Linked DNA regions of Homo sapiens: regions 2, 3, 4 and 5 are each linked to region 1. The links are contacts of gene promoters, found by promoter capture Hi-C in blood cells and fetal thymus (Javierre and others, 2016). All regions are on one chromosome and are shown on one strand. Each heading gives the region's core, a stretch centred on a gene start or on the middle of the fragment in contact. The rest is flanking DNA. Distances are from core to core; before and after follow the strand shown.

Region 1 (3,165 bases), core at 172-2,671:
AAGAGTGATAATACTAGAAGTGAAACTTGCATTAAACATAAATGGAGCAAATGAAAAAAAAGCTGCCTGTGGGAACATGCTGATTGTGGCAACAATGACACTGCCGCCATTTGAGACATTCTAGATATGCAGACTGAGGAAATCAGTGAAGGTGAACTTATAGACATAAATGAGGAAAAGTGATTGTGATGAAAGGCTGATGATGTGTCAGAGGAAGTGACACTGGCAAAAAAAACACATTAAAGGAACTCTCAGAGATATTTCACAACATTGAAAACGTAATGGATAAAATGTTGGAAACTAATATTTAAATTTCTCCAGAACGCAGAACTCATAAGCAACTGTGTTCTCCAAGTAAATATCTTCACAGGTTCCTCAATTAATGTGGGCAAAATTAAAAGTACAACTTGCTTCTTCCCTTTGGAAAACCCTCTCTCAGAGTATATTACCAACATTCAACTTCTTATACAAGGCATAGATCTGGGAATCATTATTCATTCTTCTCTTTTTGTCATTCACGTATCCACTCAATTTCCATGGCCTGTTGATTCTATTTCTCAGACGTTGTTCAAATCTCTCCACTATCTTTATTCTACTTGGCAACTCTGTGGCCCAGGCTTCCAACAACTCTCTCCCGGACAAGTGTAATCACAACAGTTACCTAACTTGGCTCCCACTCTTGTTCTCAGTTGCAACCCATTCTCCAAGCAGAAAACAAAATGCAATAGCTGTTACCTTATTCTCATCTTCACACCTCTACTCAAGTACACAAGGCTCTTCCTCATCTAGTTTCTGTCTACTTCATCTCTTGTCAATGGTCCCTACCCCAATTCTCCGCTCTAGTCATTCTGAACTTTGTTCAATTCCTGGCCTGTGTCCTCTGCCTTTAATAGGCTGCCTGGCACACTGTAGGAATTCACTAAATATGCAGACTGAATGAATGAACGAGTCCGTGGAGGGCAGTTATTCTTTGGAGTAACTTAAGAGAGAAGGAATACAGTACAACGAAGTATTCTTATTTAGGTTTATAGTGTCTTCACCTGAGCCCGCGGGGGAACCCCCCCCCCACCCCCGGGGAACCCCCCCCACCCCCGCCGCCCCCCGCCTGCAAGTTGTTACCAGTAAATAAAAGGGATCCTATTTTAGCAAGCCACACAGCATTAGAGGGCAAATAATAGTTTGGTGGCAGGAGAGCGATGAGACGGGAAAGTGTGGGGCAAAGCTTACAGTCATTGGTCCAGATTCTAACTGGCCTGTTAGCCAAAAAGTAAGGTTTTCTTTACCTCCGTGTTGACTCTGCTCTCCGAAGGCGAAGAGGGTCCTCCAAACCCGTTTGGCGTGCGGACAAAAACCCCAGCATATCGTGTCCTCACACCGGCTGGAGCACTGGACGTCGCCATGACAGAGCTCAGGGGCGGGACTGGAACAGCAGAGTCTCCCATTGGTCAGTCGGTGATATATCCGGCCAATGGTGAGCGCCGTTACTAGAAGGGCTCCAGGATGGAGGCCGACCTGACTTCTCCGCCTCGGTGGGCTGGGTCGGCGGCTGGAGCATTACCCCTACTGCGGGTCCCGCTGCTGGCAGCGCTGGAAACTGGGTGGACGGCATGGGTTGGTCTCAGGATTTGTTCCGCGCCTTGTGGAGATCGCTGTCAAGGGAAGTGAAGGAGCACGTGGGCACGGACCAATTCGGGAACAAATACTACTACATCCCGCAGTACAAGAACTGGAGAGGTGAGGTGGCGGCGTGGGCAGCGATTGCGTGGTCAGTGATTGCGAGGTCAGTAAAGGAGGGAAAAGTGAGAGCCCCTAGTCAACTAACGCATCATGCGACACTTAGGGTGTCACCGGAGAGAATTTCCCGAGTTCGTTCTCCCCTGTCGACCCCTTCACTCTGGCATCGGAGCCCTACCCGGCCCGGCTCTGGGCGCCTTGGCCCGGCCTCGTGCGTCCGCGGTCCCTACTACCCAGCGCCTTCCCCCGGCGTGCCCCGGGCTGCTTGCGCTGTTAAGGCGCACCACCACTTTCCTCCCAGCCACGCCTGTAGAGGAGCCTCAGTTTTAGCCCTGGACTGGCGACGGAGGCAGGGAAAAGTCCACGGAAATCTTTCACCAAAGGGGCTAGAAGGGCCAGGGGAGGGGTTTTTCGTACGCTGTTCCCCGCCTTGTGACCCAGAGCTGAGTGGTGTAATTGAAGAGGAGTATCTTCAGCGCCTCGGCTGTCTTCTTTCTTGGTGTTTACCCTTTTCGGTGGCACCCTGGCTCCGGCGCTGGCCCCATGCGCCTTCCTTACTACCAAGACTTGTCAGAAGTAGGTCCATATCCCCACAAGGCTCGCTGATTCCTTTCTCGGGAGTTGACATTCCAAGACCCCGTTGAGCTCAATTTAAGAAACGTGGCAATAATCATGGTGTTACTGTGTAGGATTCGTGCCAAGTAGTTGAGCGGGTTGTTTGGGGAGTAAGGAGGCGTTGCTGTCCATTGAAATCACACTGTGTAGCCGCCGTCGTAACCTCTTCTGTGTTGTTCCATCGCCGCATGCAGAAAATGTCAGGTTTTGGGCGAAGAGGCGTGGGTTAGAATCTCAGCTTTGACACCTGATAGCTCGGGAATCACGGAAAAAGTACTTGTCCTCTCCAAGTCTCAACATCCTCACTTGAAAGTTAGAGATAATATAAGATCAGCAATGTTGAGAAGCACTAAGACCTTTCCAAGATTATGTGCCATTCATTTCCCACACATATAAAATGTATTCTGTGATTTATCACTCAATTAATTTATTTTTGCCTGGCCTTTTTCTGTAACTTATTTTAATATTTAGACTTGTTTCCCTAATGAGCTCCTCTGTCAGGCAGGGAATATGTCTCACAAAAAAAGAAAAAAGCCTGCAAAGAACATAGCATGGTGTTAAGTATTTCTTGACAGGTTGCAAGCAGAGAGATGTTTCTTTTCCATAAGTTGTCAGTAAAATTAAAAATATGCAAACTGTCAGACTGAGTTTTTTTAAATTGAAATATAATTTACATACAGTAACATTCACCCTTTATGGTGTACAGTTTTATTGTTTTTGACAAATGAGTAGAGTAACCTCACTGGATTCAAGTAATAGAATAATTCCATCACCATCAGAATTTCCTCCAACTCCTTAGTAGTTCATTCCCACACC
Region 2 (3,351 bases), core at 148-2,647, 390 kb after region 1:
GTTGCATAGGTATTTTTTATTGTTCTTTTGTGTGAGTTGAGATGTTTGATTTATGTAAGTGATTTTTGAAAGTATTTCAGTATTTGATAGGTCCTTAGTGTTGTTCTGAAGGAAGTTAAATTTTCAGTTTTAGGAATACTTGGAATTTGTTATCATACTTAGTTCTCTGAAGGATAATATTGCTCCATTGAGAAAATCTAAAATGTTCAAGAGACAGTGACAATAATGGAAGGTGAAAATGGCGGATTTGGGTTAAGCAAACATTTTCATTCTTTTTAAAGTCTTTAATTTCTTGCAACTCAGTTGTGTTACAAGTACACCCTGGGATTGAAAAGGCTATCCTCATTATTTTTTTTCCACTTTGCATTGAGTTTCATCTATTTTGCGGTTGTGAGACTGATGCCTGCCTTTTTAGAAACATCAGGATGCCCTTGGAACATGTCCTTTAATAGAATTATTGCAATTAATTGAACAGTTTAAGTCATTATTGTTCTAAGTATGTCCTCACTGATTTTTAAGATTTTTATCCTGGGCCTCTTTTTTTTCCACAAAAATGGATAATCAATTGCTGTCTCAATTCTAACCCTATGAATGTTTCATATGGAAAGATATGGACCAGCATCTCTTTCTGCTTACACTCATATTCACGGTTAAGAATGTGTGATTTCAGCTAGTAATGTGTTCAGTAATAGGCAGTGTAGGAATGACATGTTTTGTTTTATAAGAGTTGTCCCTTTGAAAAATCACATGAGACCAGCCTGGGCAACATGGTGAAACCCTATCTCTACTAAAATGCAAAAATTAGCCGGGCGTAGTGGTACACCGCTGTAATCCCAGCTACTCAGGAGGCTGAGGCGGGAGAATCGCTTGAACCTGGGAGGTGGAGGCTGCAGGCTGCAGTGAGCCGAGATTGTACCACTGTACTCCAGCCTGGGTGACAGAGCGAGAACCTGTCTCAAAAAAAAAATCACATGACTGGATCTGTACTATTTCCACATGCTTTATATTTTTTTGTGTTAGACTGTAAATTTTCTTCACTGAGGCAAAATAAATTTGGTACCTTTATTTTAAGAAGCTTACTTACATATACATATGATAAAACAAACTCAGTGTTAGAAATTTTTATAGGGGCAATCATTAAACTCAAACTGTTGTTGACTTAAACTGTTATATTTAAGAGCACAAATATCCTAAAAATGAAAGATTATAGGTAACTATAAATATCTTAGAAACAAAGCGGGTTATAGGCAGGTCTTTTTAAAAAGGTAGTAAACAGTATGAAACCCACAAAACCGTTTTTAGCTACCTTTCAAATTACTGTGGTATAATTTTTAAAATAGTGCTTTGTCACAACAAAAAGGCTAATTTAGTTTTTGTGATTTATTAATTTTTTAACATGTAAATATTTGGGGATTACTTTAAATTCAAAACCACGAACTGTTTCCCTCTTTAAGTGCATGTGCTTTGAAAAAATCAGTATCAAATGATAATTTGGAGAAAAGTGTTACTGAGTCTTGTCTTGTGAAGAGACGTTTTGTTTGTCAATCCTACCCAGATCTCAAAAGTAAAGTGTGTCTGTTAGATAAAAACCTGGTTGTCTTTTCAGTTTTTGCTTTCAGTGCCCTGTGTTCCTCTAAGAATATGCTTTGTACTTGCTTTTCAGTTCTTTAAAAATAGGACATTTCCTTATTTTTTTTCATCTAGAAAAGATCCCTAAAGCAAGCTTCAGAGACAATACGGTGCAAAATTCCTTGTCATTTTGAACTTTCAGCTGACTGAAAGATTGACTTTCAGCTGATAGTAAACTGTTGCTTGAGTATGCTAAATGTTTTATGTCTGCGGAATTCGCTTAACTAATTTTGTGTCAGCTAATGTATGTGTGTATATATGTCTACAAATATATATATGTGATGATGTCCACAGGTGAACAGAAAAGGAGACAAATTAACCCAGGTGTAATTTGAATGTTGTAACCACATGCATATTTCAGTGACCCCTCTGTACAGATCCACAGTTCATTTCTTCTTAAAATATGCTGAAAGAGGAAAGGTATTTTTGTAAATAAAATACTCTTGCATTATAGTTGTTATCTACTAGTGGAGCTATGGAGATTTCAGAGATAAAAAGATAACTTCAATTTCAGTTTTTCCCATTTTCCTGGTAAGAAAACTGAGGCCCAAACTCGTTGAGTAAATTGTTTAGAGTGGCATAGGAAATGGCAAAGCCGTGTTGCTTATTTTTCCTACTGTTTGGGCCGTGTCTTAGTTTGGTAGTCTCTGAAATCAAGCATATTCTTGAATGTAACTTGAACTCTTTGGAGGGGTTATTTGGCTAACATTTATTGAATGTTAATAAATGTATTCCTAGATAGCATTTTAGTTTCAGGCTAAATTCTAATGGCTGCAGTGCAGTAGTGGTTCTAGCATGCTCAGTTCATGCTAGTGTAAAACATTTGTGGATATTTGGAAATCGTAGTAATGTTTGAGATTAAAGTTCAGAAAAAGGATTGTTAACTACAAAACTGTATTACAGCTGTGTGATTATACAGCAAGTCCTTGAATAACATTGTGTCACTATGTCATTGATGAGAAAATAAAAAAGTCAGTTCTGGCCAGGGCCATTATCTTGGGTGGAGTTTGCATGGTCGGCCTGTGTCTACGTGGGTTTTCTTTGGGTACTCTGGTTTCCTCCTACATCCCAAAGATGTGCACCTTAAGGCAAATTGTCCCATCTAAATGGCCCCAGTCTGAATGAGTGTGGGTGTGTGTGAGTGTGCCCTACAATGGGGGTGCATCCCATCCAGGGTGGGTTCCTGCCTTTCTCCCTGAGCTGCTGGGACAGGCTCTGGCCACCTGCTACCTTGAACTGGAATAACTGGGTGAAGAATTACCTTGTTTTTATTAATCGTCGTAAAATGTATGTACATCTCACATTCATTTCAATGTTTAATATTAGAAGTGTTGTGGTCTTTATTTAGAAGTTTGGTGATGTTTTTGTGACCAGAAATATGCCATAGGAAATTACTGTTTATGTCAATTAGCCTATGATAAATTGGTTTTGTAATATGTCATTTTGATTACAGTCATTTTCCGAGAACCTATTGATGGCATTAAGTGGAGGACTTGCTGTTACATGAATGTATACATATACCCATATAATAAAGAATTTGCTGAAAGTTTGAAGTGCTGATACAGAACAACAGAAGTTTGCTCTCAACTTAGTGTATATATGAAAACTTCTCCAGTATTGTTTGTATTTGACCAGGTTTTTAAAATATAATTTATTGTTTTTGTCAACGTGCCTCCTCCTCCTTCACCGGTAAATAGTATACACATAATCCTTCAGGATGTA
Region 3 (3,463 bases), core at 960-3,459, 370 kb after region 1:
AATAGCATACTATTAGAGTGCTTTAGGGGGTATCCTGGGAATCAAGGTTATGTGTCTGCTCCAGAAGTACTGTCTGTAATTATCATTCCTCCGTGGTTCTGAGGATGCAGTCTTGGTGTTTTCATTAATTTTTTCATTCTACAAGTCTGGAGTGTGTGTCTGCTCTTGATATTCAATATTTCACAGTAGGAATTTTGTTATTGTTGCTGTTTTTAGGGTCACAGATCTCTCCCCTCTCTTTTCCTCTCATAATAACCATTTCCTGGCTTCTTTTGCCCACTAAAATAAAAAGGTATGAAAGGCCAGATTTGAAAAGAAAAAGAATTCAGATATGACATTTTTCCAATTCCAGCCTTCATCTTCCCTCTTTATAATCTGCTAGTATGAGCATTAAAAAATAGAGCATTCAGATCTACCAAACACCTGAAGAGGGTTCATGGGTCAGAAGAGCACATAGATTTCCTCCCAGCACTTTGTTATCAGTATTTTCAAATATGCACCACATTAAAAGAATTTTACAGTGAACACCTATATGCCCATGATCTAGTTGTAGATTCTGCTATTAATACTTGACTCTTCTTGCTTTATCACATATTTATACAGCCCTCCTCCATTAATTCATCTTATTTTTTCATGTGTTTAAAAGTAAATTATAGGCATCCACCAATTTCTACTTAAAAACTTCAGTTTGATATTTACTTTTTTCATTTGATATGAAATTTACAGATTTTAAACTGTAAACACTAAGTGTCCAGTTTCGGAGTTTTGACAAATATATCCCTGTGTGCCCAAACCCTTACTGAGATATAAAATATTGTCATCACCTGGGAAGGTCCCTCATTTATCTTTCCTGTCAATCCCTGTTCCTAATCCCTTTCCCAAACCCAGAGGCAACCACTGTTTTGATTTTTTTCACCACAGATTAGCTTTGTCTATTCCATAATTTCATATGAATGGGTCAAATAGGATGAATTCTTTGTGTAAGACTTCTTTCACTCAGCATAATCTTTTTGAGATTTGTTGACGTTATTGTGTGAACAGTAGTAGCTCATTCTTTTATACTGCTAAGTAGTATTCCATTGTATGACTAAACCACAGTTTGCACACTTATTTTCTCTCTCTCTCTCTCTCTCTCTCTCTATCTTTGAGATGGAGCTTCACTCTGTTGCCCAGGGTGGAGTGCAGTGGCGTGATCTCAGGTCACTGCAAGCGGGTTCAAGCGATTCTCTTGCCTCAGCCTCTTGAGTAGCTGGGATTACGGGCACTCACCACCACACTCGGCTATTTTCTGCATTTTTAGTAGAGACAGGGTTTTCACCAGGTTGGCCAGGCTGGTCTTGAACTCCTGACTTCAAGTGATCCGCCTGCATTGGCCTCCCAAAGTGCTGGGATTACAGCAGTGAGCCACCGTGCCCGGCCCCTGTGCATTCGTTCTCTTCTTGATGGATACCTGGGCTGTATTCAGTTTTTGACTATTACTTATAGAGCTGCTATGAACACTCTTATACAAGTATTTTGATAAACATATGTTTTCATTTCCCTTAGGAAAAGACCTACTTATGTAATTGCAGGATCACAGCTAGTATATATTTAGTTTCTGAAGAAAATGCTATTTATTTTTCCAAAGTTGATGTACCATTTTATGTTCATATCAACAATGTATGGGAGTCCCAGTTGCTCCCCATCTTTGCTGACATTTAGTGTATTCAGTCTTTATATTTTAAGCCATCCTGGCAGTAGTGATACTTCAGGTTTTAATTTGCATTTTCCTAATGACTAAAGATATTGAGCACGTTGTCATGTGCTTATCTGCCATTTATATATCTTCTTTGGTAGAGTGTCTTCCATCCATTCAAAAAATGTTTTCTCTTTATTAATAAGTGGGAGTCCTTTACATATCCTGGATATCAGTCCTCTGTCAAGTTTATGTTTTGTAAATAATTTCTTCCAGTCTATGTCTTGACTATTCATTTTTTAATGGTCTCTTTTCATGAGAGGTTTTTTATTTTGCTTAAATCTAATTTATCAATTTTTTTGTGGTTATTGCTCTAGGTGGCCTAAACAAAGCACATTGATATTAATAAATGGTGTTCACAAAATGTGTTGTAGGCTCAAGATAATCCAAAGCTTCACTGTGGTCACTGTAACAGAAGTATTTCCCTAAAGAAACTTCCATGTCCGTACATACTGGGAACAACTGAGGAAAACCTGGTGATCTGTTTACACTCTCAAGAGCATCCCAGAGAATGAATACAACTCTAGACCTCCCTTTTCACTTTGTTTTATAGTAAGAAGCTTTCTGTTTTGACGGCTGGAAGGAGTCGCCACAGGCAAAACTACCTGGTCATGGCCTTGTTCTGGAATCAAGTCAGCCTTTGTGCTTATAAGCAGGATAAAGTAGATTATTTTAATAATTCATTTTTAATCCATATTTTAATAAGCATATGTTATTGAGATCATACTTAAAATAGTTTAATATATGGCATGAATGAATAAAAATAGACTCCCCAGAAGCTTTAAAAACATTCAAAGAAAGAAATCCACAGAGAGACCCAGGTGTCAGTGATGACATGGGGCAAAATTAAGAGCAGATTGAAAGTGGGAATCGTCTGCTATGAAGAAAGTAGGACTTGGGAAAATAGAGCTCTACTGAAGGAATACAACGATTCTTTAGTGTTGTTTTTAGGCTACACATTGAAGGGTTTCCCAAGATTTTACCCTGGTCTCTTTGCCAACTGCTCTGCTTGTCAGTGAAGCTGTTTGATTTCTCTCTTTGTTTCTTGTTCGAACCAAAAGGACACTCAATACAGACATGACATTTTGAAAACTAAACTCACATCTTTTTCACCCTAACTTCATTGTTGTTTTGGCCTACTTTCTCTTAGACACTTTCTTGAGGGTTCAGGCTGAATGTGGTCTTTCAAACTTTCAAACTCCCTTGAGTACCTCTTTCTGTGATTCCATTCCTAGTGATCATTAATGGTCTGCAACTGCTTCTTTATTTGTGGGGTATCTCGGGCCTTTTGCTTCTTCGGTTTTCTACTTTTTATCATTAAAAATCCCCCCCCCCCTTTATTCGAGACTGATTTAGGAAAAGAAAGGGATGAAACTTAAATGAATGAACTGCTGTTTGATTGCAGGTTAAAATTAGTGGCCAAGTTTTTGTTTGTTGTTGATCTAGTAGACTTTTATAAACCAAAACTAACTGTATGATTCTCATTGGAAGTTATGTTGAAATATGAGATATGAAGAGAGTACCAATTCACAAAGCCCTGGACTGTTCTAACCCTAGGGAATACTTGATGGTGGCTGTGTGGGTGTGCCTGCCAGGCTGGGAAAGGATCTAGCGTAATGGTGAGTTTTGTAACACACCAGCCCAGGTCCAACTGCTTGAGTAGGAAGAGTAGAGGTAGGTGGTTAGTTTTGTGGCCTCCCGGATCTGTTCCTGAAGAAAGCAGATAAG
Region 4 (3,070 bases), core at 505-3,004, 450 kb after region 1:
AAAAAAAAGAGAATTGAATGTTTTCATTCAAATGTGAATACAACATTGTATTTAACTTGGAAATTCTGAACAAATGTAAGATGGCAGTGTTGGTGGCAGATTCTTTTTTCAATGGCATAGTGTCATATTTTAGTTTCATTCATATTGGCCTGGTTTAAATAGTTTACCAAGGTTGGTGGGTTATCTACACTTTAAAATTAATTAAACATTTTAAAATTAAGTTTTTGGTTAAAATTTTTACCTGTTGCTAAATAAAAAATATACAGAAAACACAGATTTTTTTGGGAGAAAGGGGAGTTAAATGAATTATCCGTCTAATGTCTTCCAAATATTCCTTATTAAATTGTTGAAGTGGACATAGTTATTCTCTTAGGAGTATTATAAACATAATAACAATAAATTTGTTTGCCCTTACAGAGTTTAAAATGACTGTTACCAATTTACAGGTTAGGTAGGGAACTGCTTCTCAGAGAGGGTAATGACTTACCCATGATTGTCCCAATATTCAGCAGTAAGATGTGGTACTAGAACTAAGTTCTGTTGCCATATTGTCAATATTTGCCTGAATTTGTTTGTTGTATGAAATAACCAGGTTTTTCAGTTTTGGACATTGGTTTAGACTCAATCTAAAAACCATTAAATTAGTTCAGGCTGTACCTTCCTGTCCGCCAAAAACATTATCCCAGTTGTGTGTAATACTGTATATATATCTAAAACATCTTATACAAATGTTTTTATGTAATCAAAATGAGTTTTCTTAAATTTAAATACATTGGATTTACCACTGATAAATTAGATTTTAATCAGATTCACCTTGAGTGTTATATTAGGGAGTCAGTGAAGTGCCCCCAGGGGGTGGCAATCATGACTATAAATCCTCATTTCAGGAGAAAAATGGCAGTTTGTTTTTGTTGGTCTGCACGTGCTGTGAATCATCAGCCCTGCAGTAGGGTCCTCCAGGGACTGTGGCATGCACAGCCCATCAGTGACAGCCAAGTAGTTGTGAGTGACTTTTTTTTTTTAAGAGGCAGTTTACTTTGTTTTAAAAACATGAACCTTTAAAAGAATTCCAAAAGTAGCACACACATTGAAAATTATAATCAAACATACTAAAGGAAAATGTTAAATGACTCCTAAAATTTTAGCATAGAAGTAATCTTCACCTAAATTTTGAATTAAATCTTTTGTTGTGAGTGACTTCTGAAGGGGATGGAGTCCTTATTGCCTTTTTAGCTCACTAACTCCAAGTGTAGAGAATGGGCTTTATGGTCCAAATCTACTTAATCCACGTTGAGAGGGAACAGAAAAGGAGTTTGGTCGCAGTGCCTAGCACAGAAAGAAATGAAATTTACCTATTAATGTAACTATTAAGAGACTTCCCACTTTACCTTCAAAACAAAAGGAATATCATTTTCATGTCTATACTTAGTCTTCCCTGCTGTCCTGTAAGCCTCTGGTTGCAAAATAGAATCTCAATAGTATTTCAGAGAATGGGACTTCTTGCCATCTGATACCTGTGAAACTCTTAAGTGATCTTGGGCCCTGCTCTCTTGCTGTGGTTCCAGTTGAAGTGTGGAGTCTCACAGCAGGGGTCCCCAACCCCTGGGGCCATGGAACCCTACAGGTCCCTGGCGTTCTAGGAACTGGGCCACACAGCAGGAGGTGAGTGGCAGGCAATTGAGCATTACTGCCTGAGCTCCGCCTCCTGTCAGATCAGCAGAGATTCTGATTCTTATAGGAGGGTGAACCTTATTGTGAACTGTGTATGCAAGGGATCTAGGTTGCACACTCCTTATGAGAATCTAATTCCTGATGATCTGAGGTGGAACAGTTTCATCCTGAAACTATCCCCCTACCCCTAGTTCATGGAAAAATTGTCTTTCATGAATCGGTCCCTGGTGCCGAAAAGGTTGGGGACTGCCGCCTTTATAGCATCAGCTCTCCTTGAGCAACTAGCCAGGCAATGTTGTATAGTGTTTAAGATTTGGGAGCCTTAAGTTCTGCATTTGAATCCTGGTTCCAGCACTTAGTAACTCTTGACCCTGGGCAAGTAACTTAATCTCTTGGAACCTCGTTTTTCCTTATCTGTAAAATTCAATAAAATATTTATCAACGTGCTTAAAAAATGCATAGCACAGTATTGTGGTACCTGATTAGCCCCAGCAGAGGTTCATTACAATTTTGATTTTAGGATTAAAGTAAACATTGTATAATTTCAGTTCTGAGAATAAATTTCTCTGAGTTATGAAGCAAACTGAATTTGTGTACTGGTGTCATTAGGATGCTTTTTAGTGAGAGAAGGAAGGATGACCTTGAGCTTATGGCGGAATGGTAGGGCAGGGGGCTGAAGGAGAGCAAGTTGTGTATAGTTGTTTTTTTTTTTTTTTTTTTTTTTTTTTTGAGACAGAATCTCGCTCTGTCACCCAGGCTGGAGTGCAGTGGTGCGATCTCTGCTCACTGCAACCTCCGCCTCCTGGTTTCAAGTGATTTTCCTGCCTCAGCCTCCCAAGTAGCTTGGACTACAGACGCATGCCACCATGCCAGGCTAATTCTTGTATTTTTTTAGTAGAGACGGGGTTTCTCCATGTTGGGCAGGCTGGTCTCAAACTCCTGACCTCAGGTGATCCACCCGCCTCAGCCTCCCAAAGGGCTGGGATTACAGGTGTGAGCCACTGCGCCTGGCTGTGTATGTTTTTTTTTTTTTTTTTTTTAAAGATAATCAGTGTCTATTATTTGAAAAATGTGTTTTATTTGAAAACACTGAGTTTGTCTAATTATGGATTAAATCCTAATATGTGACTTCGTTGAGAAAATTACTAACATTGGCATTCCAGTTTGTCTCACATACTGAAATCTCCTCTTTATTTACCAGAACAGATTCCATCTCTGTCTTTTGACTGAAGTGAAAACATAAGACCTTCTTTTGCCTTTTCCACAATCTGTCAACACCTACTGAGTTGGACAGAAGGTTTAAGCACAGTGAGGCTTCATCTTCGTGTTCCTGAGGGACCAGAATCCTCTGGTTACAAAGCCCTCAGAGCTAAATTCTTAGTGGGGACACATGTACAGT
Region 5 (3,333 bases), core at 43-2,542, 470 kb after region 1:
TATATGCTGCATTCTACCTCAGAAGGAATAATTGGATCTTTAAAACTTTAAAAAAGATTTTTGGTTTGTTTTAAACAACTGAGAATGTTAAGGACAAAAAAGACTTCATGAAACATTTACCAATGAAAGGTAATGGGAGCTTAAGTTATTCAAGATAAGTTTATCAGGGCTTAGAATACCAGCAATCTGATGTTACTATAAAACCAAAAGTGTGGATCGTAATCTAAATCTAACCTTCTTACATTTGTGTTGGGTGAGGAGTATGCAGAGTCTAGGAATCACTGGATACAAAAAGGGTTATATGGAAGTGTTCTCTTTGCATGTGAGTTTGTGGAACGAATGGCATTCCTTTGTTGCTGAATTAATCCAGATTCTTGGAAGGAATAGAGAGGAAGGAGGCAGAAAGGCCGGTTTTCACAGTGTTGTTGTACCTGCTGATAACTCACCAAGGCCCTGTTAAGATGAGTCAATTCTAATAACTCTTGGGATTTCCCTACTAGTGAAGCTTCTTTTACAGCTTCATCTCCCCCTCCTCCCGCAGAAACGATGAGACTTCTTGAAATTTTTAATAAGAATTTTAGACACTCTAGCAGTAGTTTCCAGGAGCCACAGCCTCTGATATCATGCTGCTTTTGATCTTCCTCCTAGCTGATTATATCACCTGTTAGAGCTTATACACCTCTGATCTCCTCCTGGGGGTATGATAGAATCCTGTTTCTTGATTCTCTCAGAAGTGATGAGTGACCAGCAGGCAGGCTTTTTAGCCAGGTGCTTAGGACCTCATGCCAATGAGATGAATCAAAGGTTTGATCCCTGTAGGTCCATCCCTCTTGGAGTGATTTAGTTTAGCTCTGCCCCTTCCTTTGGCCTCACGCAGTGCACTAGCCCCAGCTAGCTGCCTTGCCAGCAACCACCATTAGATTGCAAGACAGAATTGAAACACAAATAAGTTGCTAAGACTAGAAAACACAAAGCCTATTTGAAAGAACAGAAGTTGAGGAAGGTAGACAGGGAATGAATGAGAAGTATGAACAGAAAGACAACAAAATAGTGCATAAGGCCGGGCACAGTGGCTACGCCTGTAATCCCAGCACTTCGGGAGGCCGAGGCAAGGTGGATCACCTCGGTCAGTGATCAGGAGTTTGAGACCAGCCTGACCAACATGGTGAAACCTCATCTCTACTAAAAATACAAAAATTAGCCAGGCGTAGTGGCACATGCTTGTAATCCCAGCTACTCGGGAGGCTGAGGCAGGAGAATTGCTTGAACCCGGGAGGTGGAGGTTGCAGTGAGCCGAGATTGTGTCATTGCACTCCAGCCTGGGCAACAAGAGCAAACTCCGTCTCGAAGAAAAAAAAAATAAAAGCGCATACCTTTGTTAGCATCTGCCTGTAGACTAATGGAAATTAGGTTGGAACTGTAGTTGCAGAAATGAAAAGGACTTTGAGTTCACAAAGGAGTTCACTGCCTATATCTGTTAGAAGATCCTGCCTCAATATATATTATCTACATTAAACAGGTTTAGGAGATTATTAAATGAAAATCACTCAAGCGTGCCAACTAAAATTATTCAAGTTCAGTTTCAAAGTGGATTTTTTTAGTATAAATAGATGCAGGTTCCCAAAGAAGCCTTCAAATGGGTAGAAATGCTGTTTTTTCTTTTCCTATGGGTACTGTTTTTAGGTATGGTTAGAGGACACAGTTTCAGAACTGTAGAACACAGTAATTAGAAAGGCTGCCTAAGGGGCTGTGTGGATTGTGTGAGTAGAGTCTGAAACATAAATGAAAAGCAAAAGCTAATCAAAAGAGGTTCATGTTAGCATGTGCTTTTCTTGGTGCTCCATCATTACTGTAGCTAATCGGATCCTTACCACTGAAGTGCATACTTTTAAATTTGTACAGTTAAGGACTTTTGTTTTGAAATACTATAAGCGAATGCATGTCTTTTTCTATATTTAAATAACTGATATACTCAAGAGTTTTGGAGAATGGGTAGATTGTTTATCTGTGAATTTTTAAAGCAGATTGTACATATCACAGTTTTGCTTCATAAGCAAACTGTGTGGTTTTTCTTATTAGGAAGCTTCAAGAAAGACCTTGAAACCAAGTGAAAACCATTGAGGATATCACAGGATGGTAGAGTTTTAGAATTCGAAGGTACTTTATTGGTGATCTAATCAGTCCATCAATTTACATATGAATAACTGAGGCAGTGAGAAATTAAGTGGTTTGCAGAGGTCTAAATATCTAGTAGTGGGAGAATCAAAACCAGGACTACAGGCTTTTAACTTGCAGTCCAGTCCTTTTATCAGCACCAAATATGGTGATTTGAATGTAGATTATGCTAAAGGAATGGGGAATGATAACTGCTTTGTTCATAGCACTCATAAAACCTATCCAGGGATTTTGAAAGGCTCAATAATTTTAACACAAAGAAGGATTCAATACAGAACTAGTCTATGATTTATTTATTTATTTATTTATTTTTTTGAGGCGAAATCTTGCTCTGTCGCCCAGGCTGGAGTGCAATGTTGTGATCTTGGCTCACTGCAACCTCCGCTTCCCGGGTTCAAGTGATTCTCCTGCCTCAGCGTCCGAAGTAGTTGGGATTACAGGTGCCTGCCACCACACCCGGCTACTTTTTTGTATTTTTAGTAGAAATTTTCAAGACCTGGTTGGTCTCGAACTCCTGACCTCAGTTGATCCACCAGCCTCGGCCTCCCAAAGTGCCGGGATTACAGGTGTGAGCCACTGTGCCCGGCCTACTCTATGATTTTTATTTAAATGAAACCTTCTAGTGACTATCTAGATGAGTGAGGGGTCAAGACACAGAAACAAATGTTTCCAAGGGAAGTGGTAGATGGCGATAGAAATATGGATGTGGTACTTTAAGGACAGAGACAAGGGAATGGTCTTTAAGATGCTCTTTAAAATTTTTCAGTGCAGGGATAAAGTGTTATTATTAGAGAAATAATGTTTACTTTACGAGACACCTTGCTTTTCACATCCCTCAGCTCCTGTTTATAACTTACTATTATTTTTTTGAGACAGAGTCTTGCCCTGTCGCCCAGGCTAGAGTGCAGTGGTGCAATCTCGGCTCACTGCAACCTCCACCTCCCAGGTTCAAGCGATTCTCCTGCCTCAGCCTCCTGAGTAGCTGGGACTACAGGTGTGCGCCGCCATGCCTGGCTAATTTTTGTGTTTTTAGTAGAGACAGAATTTCACCATGTTTGCCAGGCTGGTCTTGAACTCCTGACTTCAGGTGATCCCCCTGCCTTGGCCTTCCAAAGTTTTGGGATTACAGGCATGAGCCACCACGCCCGGCCTCCTCTT

The links. The method cuts DNA at HindIII sites, captures the fragments that hold promoters and counts their contacts. A CHiCAGO score of 5 or more calls a contact.
Region 2: a contact is called between a fragment that was not itself captured here and the fragment with the promoter of ERCC8 in region 1, in 7 of 17 cell types (activated CD4 T cells, total CD8 T cells, total CD4 T cells and 4 more). The highest score is 10.1, in activated CD4 T cells.
Region 3: a fragment that was not itself captured here is called in contact with the fragment with the promoter of ERCC8 in region 1 in 2 of 17 cell types (non-activated CD4 T cells and activated CD4 T cells); the score reaches 5.9 in non-activated CD4 T cells.
Region 4: a contact is called between a fragment that was not itself captured here and the fragment with the promoter of ERCC8 in region 1, in 1 of 17 cell types (total CD4 T cells). The highest score is 5.9, in total CD4 T cells.
Region 5: a contact is called between a fragment that was not itself captured here and the fragment with the promoter of ERCC8 in region 1, in 5 of 17 cell types (activated CD4 T cells, total CD8 T cells, non-activated CD4 T cells and 2 more). The highest score is 7.3, in activated CD4 T cells.

Annotation. Positions count from the first base shown.
Region 1 is chr5:60,943,649-60,946,813 of GRCh38, forward strand. It overlaps ERCC8 (ERCC excision repair 8, CSA ubiquitin ligase complex subunit), which reads right to left and starts at 1,422. Exons shown (of 12, transcript NM_000082.4): 1 at 1,284-1,422. The coding sequence starts at 1,360. NDUFAF2 (NADH:ubiquinone oxidoreductase complex assembly factor 2) reads left to right here and starts at 1,557. Exons shown (of 4, transcript NM_174889.5): 1 at 1,557-1,734. The coding sequence starts at 1,608. RefSeq lists an enhancer at 2,193-2,322. The HindIII fragment of the contact is 6,619 bases long and covers 1,221-3,165 here.
Region 2 is chr5:61,338,456-61,341,806 of GRCh38, forward strand. All of the region lies in intron 1 of ZSWIM6 (zinc finger SWIM-type containing 6), which reads left to right. Among named protein-coding and RNA genes, the nearest start is that of ZSWIM6, 7.9 kb to the left of the region's middle. The HindIII fragment of the contact is 648 bases long and covers 1,074-1,721 here.
Region 3 is chr5:61,314,940-61,318,402 of GRCh38, forward strand. No RefSeq gene overlaps it. Among named protein-coding and RNA genes, the nearest start is that of ZSWIM6, 16 kb to the right of the region's middle. The HindIII fragment of the contact is 168 bases long and covers 2,126-2,293 here.
Region 4 is chr5:61,396,541-61,399,610 of GRCh38, forward strand. All of the region lies in intron 1 of ZSWIM6 (zinc finger SWIM-type containing 6), which reads left to right. Among named protein-coding and RNA genes, the nearest start is that of ZSWIM6, 66 kb to the left of the region's middle. The HindIII fragment of the contact is 7,030 bases long and covers 1-3,070 here.
Region 5 is chr5:61,415,796-61,419,128 of GRCh38, forward strand. All of the region lies in intron 1 of ZSWIM6 (zinc finger SWIM-type containing 6), which reads left to right. Among named protein-coding and RNA genes, the nearest start is that of ZSWIM6, 85 kb to the left of the region's middle. RefSeq lists enhancers at 1-423, 424-1,051, 1,052-1,678. The HindIII fragment of the contact is 1,578 bases long and covers 504-2,081 here.